Regions from separate parts of the Homo sapiens genome. Here region 2 is linked to region 1. The links are contacts of gene promoters, found by promoter capture Hi-C in blood cells and fetal thymus (Javierre and others, 2016). All regions are on one chromosome and are shown on one strand. The core of a region is centred on a gene start or on the middle of the fragment in contact, and the rest is flanking DNA. Distances in the headings are between cores, read along the strand shown. Region 1 holds the start of DNALI1 (dynein axonemal light intermediate chain 1). Region 2 overlaps MTF1 (metal regulatory transcription factor 1).

Region 1 (2,721 bases), core at 165-2,664:
GGAGGCCACTGCAGCAGTGCGAGTGGCCACCAGTGACTAGGAGCAAGATGGTGGAAGCAGAGGTGGTGAAAAGTGGTTGGATTTGGGAAAGAATTTGAAGGTGGAGCCAAAAGAATGTGACGAAGGATAGGACACATGCTGTGAGAGTGATCAAAAGGAATGAAAGGTGGTTTGAGTCCCTAGTAAAAAGGAGAATACGGGGGATGAGCAGATTGGGGAAGGAAGAAATTGTGATTTAGTTTGAATATATTGAGTTTGAGATGTCTATTAGATATCTTCATGAAGATAATGAGGAAGCAGAAGACTATATGGTCCTGGAGTTTAGTGGAGAAGACAGGGCTGGAAATACACATTTGGGAGCCATCAGCACATAGGTGGTATCTAAAGCCATGAGATTGGGTGACAGCATGCAGGAAATGAGGGTAGATTGAGAAGAGGTCTCCCACCACCCTGCCAGGATCCAGCCATATGTAAGTTCTAGGAGCTCTGTGATACTGGGAGGAAACCCCAGCCAGGAACAGAGGCAGAGTGCCTCCCCCCACACTCCCAAAATCCACGATGTAAAAGCTTAGGCCTTCTCCCAGCCACTGCTCCTACTTTCTTACCTTGGGGGTAGTATGGCATTCAAGATTTCTTCTGCCTGCTTTGTAGGATCTGGGACACAGGGAGTTGAGGGGAGCTTGGTCTTGGGTGGCTGTGGGGCTGAACCTGAAGGTCCAGGCTGCTGGGGGCTGACTTTCAGTAGCCGAGCCTGAGATGAAGGCACAGGTGAGGGCAGGAAATTGTTCAGGAGCTCAGCTCCACACATCCCCAACCTGTATATTGCTCCAGGTCTTCTGCACAGCCCTCCCCTCTTCCTAGCCTACTTTGGGTCGGTCTTCTCAGCAGAAATTATGTCACAGAGCTGAAGGAGGCCATGAAGTCTGGCCCCAACTCAATGCTTGAACAGGTGTTTCTGGCGCATGTGCTTTCACACCTCTGGTGATGGGGAAATCACTACCTAGTCATCTGTTCTTGGACCCGCGTACCATTAAGAAGAGTGAGCCCCATCCATCTCCCTGTGACCTCCTTCCCCATCCTAAATCTGCCCTCTGGGGTCACACCCAACATCTGGGCTTCCTATACAATCCTCTCACCCTCCTTCTCTGACTTCCCAATTCCCTTTACTCCCAGTCGCTGCAATCCCCGTCCCTTGAGATTCCTGACCCTCCATGCGGGAATGTGTCTTTCCCTATCGGAGTTTCGAGGCTCCTTTGTCTCCCGAGCCCCCGTCTTTACCTTGGGGCTCCGTTTCTCCGTGTTCCGGCTCACCAGCACTGGGGTGTCGTACTTGAGCAAAGAGTCTGCGGGCGGAATCATGGCGGAGGCGAGAGTAGCAACCCAGCAGCTGCCCTGTCCAGTGTGGGCCTTGTTTGCCGTCACCATGGAAACCGCCCCCTCACTCCCGCCCCCGCGCTTCTTGGCCTGGGCGGAGCTTCGAAGTGGGGCGGGGCCAACAGCCGGCAAGTTTCATTCTGTGCCTCCTGGGCAGAAACCTCTTGTGCCTGACTTCTTAGGCCTTCTGCTCACCGGTTCGTCCCTGTACTCTTGGAGGCGAGGAAAACGGCAGTTCGAGTCCCTATGCTCCGTCTAGCTAGCGATTTGAAGTGGGCAGATCACCTTTGCCATGCTCCAATTTTGTCACCTGAAAAACAGGAGTCATCTCCTGACTTCTCATGAAGGGTTAAGGGACAATTCCCAAAGGAAGTCATCTGGAGTTCCTAGGTTTTTTGAAGGTTTTTTTTGTTGTTGTAGTTGTTCCCAAAATGTGTTCATTGAGATTGTTTCCCACTCATCTTGATTCAGAGTGCTTTTAGTGCTGCTTCCTCCTGAAGGAACATCCTTCTGTAAGCCTTACTTTTCCTCCTGTAGGCTGGCAGAGGACAGTGGAGCAGCCAACACACAAAACTGCCGTTTGTGCATGGCTAAAGACTGTGGTGATTTTATAGCATCCTGGGCATTTCACATCCATGAAGTAGGAATTGGGGCTCTGCACCAGGCGTTTCTTCTTGTGTTTCCTCTTCTCCTCTTCTGGGGAGGGATGAAGGAGATCCTTTGCGAGAGGCATGTTCTCGTGGGTAGGTCGTCACCGCAAGAAAGGGCTTGTTTTGATTTTTAAATTGAGACGGAGTCTCTCTCTGTTGCCCAGGCTGAAGTGCAGTGGCGTGATCTCGGCTCACTGCAACCTCCGCCTCCCGGGTTCAAACGATTCTCCTGCTTCAGCCTTCTGAGTAGCTGGGACTACAGGCGCGTGCCCCCATGCCCGGCTAAATTTTGTATTTTTAGTAGAGACGGGGTTTCACCACGTTGGCCAGGCTGGTCTCGAACTCCTGACCTCGTGGTCCGCCTGCCTCGGCCTCCCAAAGTGCTGGGATTACAGGCGTGAGCCACCGCGCCCAGCCTGAAGTATTTTTCTAATTAAATGGAGAAATGACAAAGTAGGAGCCAATGGGAAACCTCCCCTTTGCCCCCTGAAGATTCGCTCAAAAATCAATTCACAAAAGGCAGATTAATTGGAGAAAAGGCATACAAATGTATTTAAAATGTATACACGGGGAGAATCACAGTATGATTACCCACCCCGAAAAGGGTTCAGAAGCTTATATACCCTCCTGGTAAAACAGGTTTGTGAGGGTGGGAGAAGGAGGAATTCTGTTCAGGGATTACTAGGCAGAATGAATG
Region 2 (2,721 bases), core at 69-2,568, 290 kb before region 1:
ACATTTCACATAGGTTGTACATATTAAGTACTGCCAACATTTTGCTGTTATATGACATTGGCAAAAGAACCTGAATTTTATTTTTTTCTCCTCATATTTAAATCAGGCTTACTTGTTTCTTCTGTGATGTGCAAAGGGATAGTTTCAACCTAGGTTCCAGCTTTGTTCTGTTATGTACTAGCTATGTGGCCTTGGGCAAGCTGCTCTGTTTCCTTTTTTATAAAATTGAAATAGAAATATCCCATTGCATTTTGTGAAGATTAAATGAGATTTATTCATATGTAATATGTATAAAACATTTAGCATAGTGTCTGGTGCATCATGATTGTTCGCTGGATGTTCATTTGCTTTCTTTTCCTCATAGACCCCCATGGTTCTTGAAGGAGGTAAAGAGGTAATGTCCAGTTTAACAAGAGGTTAAAATGTTCTTTGTTAGGCACTCTTTGGGAGGTGTTTTCTCCTTGAGACAAGCTTACATATAAATTGTGATTAGGTTCCAGGATAGCCCATAGAAATCTTGGTAACCCCTAATTAGCTGAACTGTTGTATTAATACTGCCATGGAACATAAACCGCCATTTATAACTGTGTTTTATTCATTTAATTTTTTGAGACAGGGTCTCACTTTGTCACCCAGGCTGAGTGCAGTGGAGTGATTACGGCTCACTGCAGCCTTGACCTCACCAGCTCAAGCGATCCTCCCACCTCAGCCACCACACCTGGCTAATTTCTTATTTTTTTGGAGAGTCGCGGTCTTGCTATGTTGCCCATGCTGGTCTCGAACTTCTGGGCTCAAGTGAGCCTCCCACCTCAGCCTCCCAAAGTGCTAGGTGAGCACTTACAGGCATGAGCCACCTCACTGGCCCATACAACAGTGTTTTAAAATGAGAACCTGTCTGTAGTCCCCTGCAGGCGTTCTGTGGATACCAGCTCTTGCCACTCCTCTCTCTTATACTTGGCTTCCTTTGACTTAGTATCAGGCCACTGAAAATTATTTCCATGGTGGGCATTTGGGGCACCAGGCAGAGCTAAGGGCTCTCAAAGAATGAGGACTTCTATTATGCTGGCAATGGTGGTGGAGAGAGGAAGATGGCTGGCTGTTGAATACCTGATATGTACCGATCACTATGTTATGGGCTTTAATATAGTTTTGTATTTAATTTTCTTAGCAATCCTATAACATAGATACTATTAGCCCCCATTTTACAGATGACAGACTGACACTTAGAAACACACAACTAGCAACTGGTAGAACCGAGATTTGAACTGAGGACTTTCTGGATGCCAAAGCCTATGCTTTCTACCATCACACACCACTTTTGCAAAGATACAAGAATCAGGTATTGAGACCTGTTGGCTGTGAAAAGGGCTAAGAAATGAAGGGACAGCAGTACTTGTTCTGTAAGGGTAAAGGTTTGAGGTGTGGGGAACAGCTGGATGAAGTCAGCTCTCATGGTGGGGGATGGGAGGCCTGTCGAAATGAGATCTTCAGGGTTCTTATATTTCTGAGCTTTTTGGTTGTCCATTATGGAGAAGAAATGATACCAGTGCCGGTGTGGGGAATGGAGTCGGACACAGAGAGGGAAGGGAAGTCACTAGTGATGGGGAGGAAAAGGCAGTTTCTATAGCCATAACAGCCAGGCCAGTCATTTATTTATGAGAATGTTCATGTGCTAGGTGCCCAGAAGCAGGAACTCTCTTGTGGAATAGGGGGCTGTAAATGTGTGTAAAATCTGCTTCTCACTTTCACTTTCTTTTCCTCCAGGAAAAACCCAGCCTTTTTTCTTTTTTCTTTCTTTCCACAGGTGTTGACTTTTTTCTTTTTCTAATTTTTTTAAATTTTTGCCTTCTGGGGTCACAGTGTTTTATTTTCTCACTTTTGCTTATCCCATTCACCTTTCTTCTCTGATTCTGTTATCTTAACAAGGCAGTCATCTTTGTTAAATATTTCTGTATTCTAGAACTGCTCAGAACACTTTGTAAATCAGCATCAATTCTCTGAAAGCTCCTACTTTGTGCCCATTACTAGCATGAGATGTTATCCTCAGTGCACCTAACCTGTGCTCCCTCCATGTTCCCTAACAGGGTAATCGACAGCTGTTTGAGGCCACTCAGGAAGATTAAAGTTATGCTTAGAGCCTGAAGCTCTTTTGGAGGAAAGCTTTTTTTTTTTTTTTTTTTTAAATGGGGTCTCACTCCATCACCCAGCTGCTCATGTCTTTAAATTCAGGTTGGGGATCACCACCTTCAAGAAGCCTTTCTAAGGTCACTGAAGTCTGTTACATGTTTCTTTGGTATATTCCCATAGTATGCTGAATATCTGTTATCAGTAAAACTTCTCAAACCATGTTGTTCTTGTCTGATTTTCCTTTTGACTTTGAGCTCTTTGAGAGTAGGGACAATTTTTATATGTATTCCTAGCACCCAGGACAGTATAATTTCTGGAACATAATTTTTAGGATGTATGAATGATAAACCTTAGTTGTATTGAAATGTTCCAAATGTTGCAATACCTCCTGTATGTAACCATGAAAACCTACACGTTTTTGCAATTTCCTGCTCTGATCCAGTTTGAGGAGGTTTAGTTTTCCCTTTTTGTGAAATTTTGTGCTATTTTAAAATGATTCTGAAAGACACAGAATAGTGACTTCTTCTTCTCCCTCCAAATGAGGCAAGAGATTACTCATTTATTCAGCATTTTATGGGGGGAGCACGCATTTGC

Evidence for each region. The method cuts DNA at HindIII sites, captures the fragments that hold promoters and counts their contacts. A CHiCAGO score of 5 or more calls a contact.
Region 2: a contact is called between a fragment that was not itself captured here and the fragment with the promoter of DNALI1 in region 1, in 1 of 17 cell types (activated CD4 T cells). The highest score is 5.0, in activated CD4 T cells.

What each region holds. Positions count from the first base shown.
Region 1 is chr1:37,555,633-37,558,353 of GRCh38, reverse strand. It overlaps DNALI1 (dynein axonemal light intermediate chain 1), which reads right to left and starts at 1,414. Exons shown (of 6, transcript NM_003462.5): 1 at 1,279-1,414; 2 at 606-751. The coding sequence starts at 1,359. It also overlaps the pseudogene RPS27P9. RefSeq lists enhancers at 1,332-1,626, 1,837-2,721. The HindIII fragment of the contact is 2,071 bases long and covers 570-2,640 here.
Region 2 is chr1:37,845,852-37,848,572 of GRCh38, reverse strand. The region is part of intron 2 of MTF1 (metal regulatory transcription factor 1); the gene reads left to right. Among named protein-coding and RNA genes, the nearest start is that of MTF1, 12 kb to the left of the region's middle. The HindIII fragment of the contact is 1,689 bases long and covers 474-2,162 here.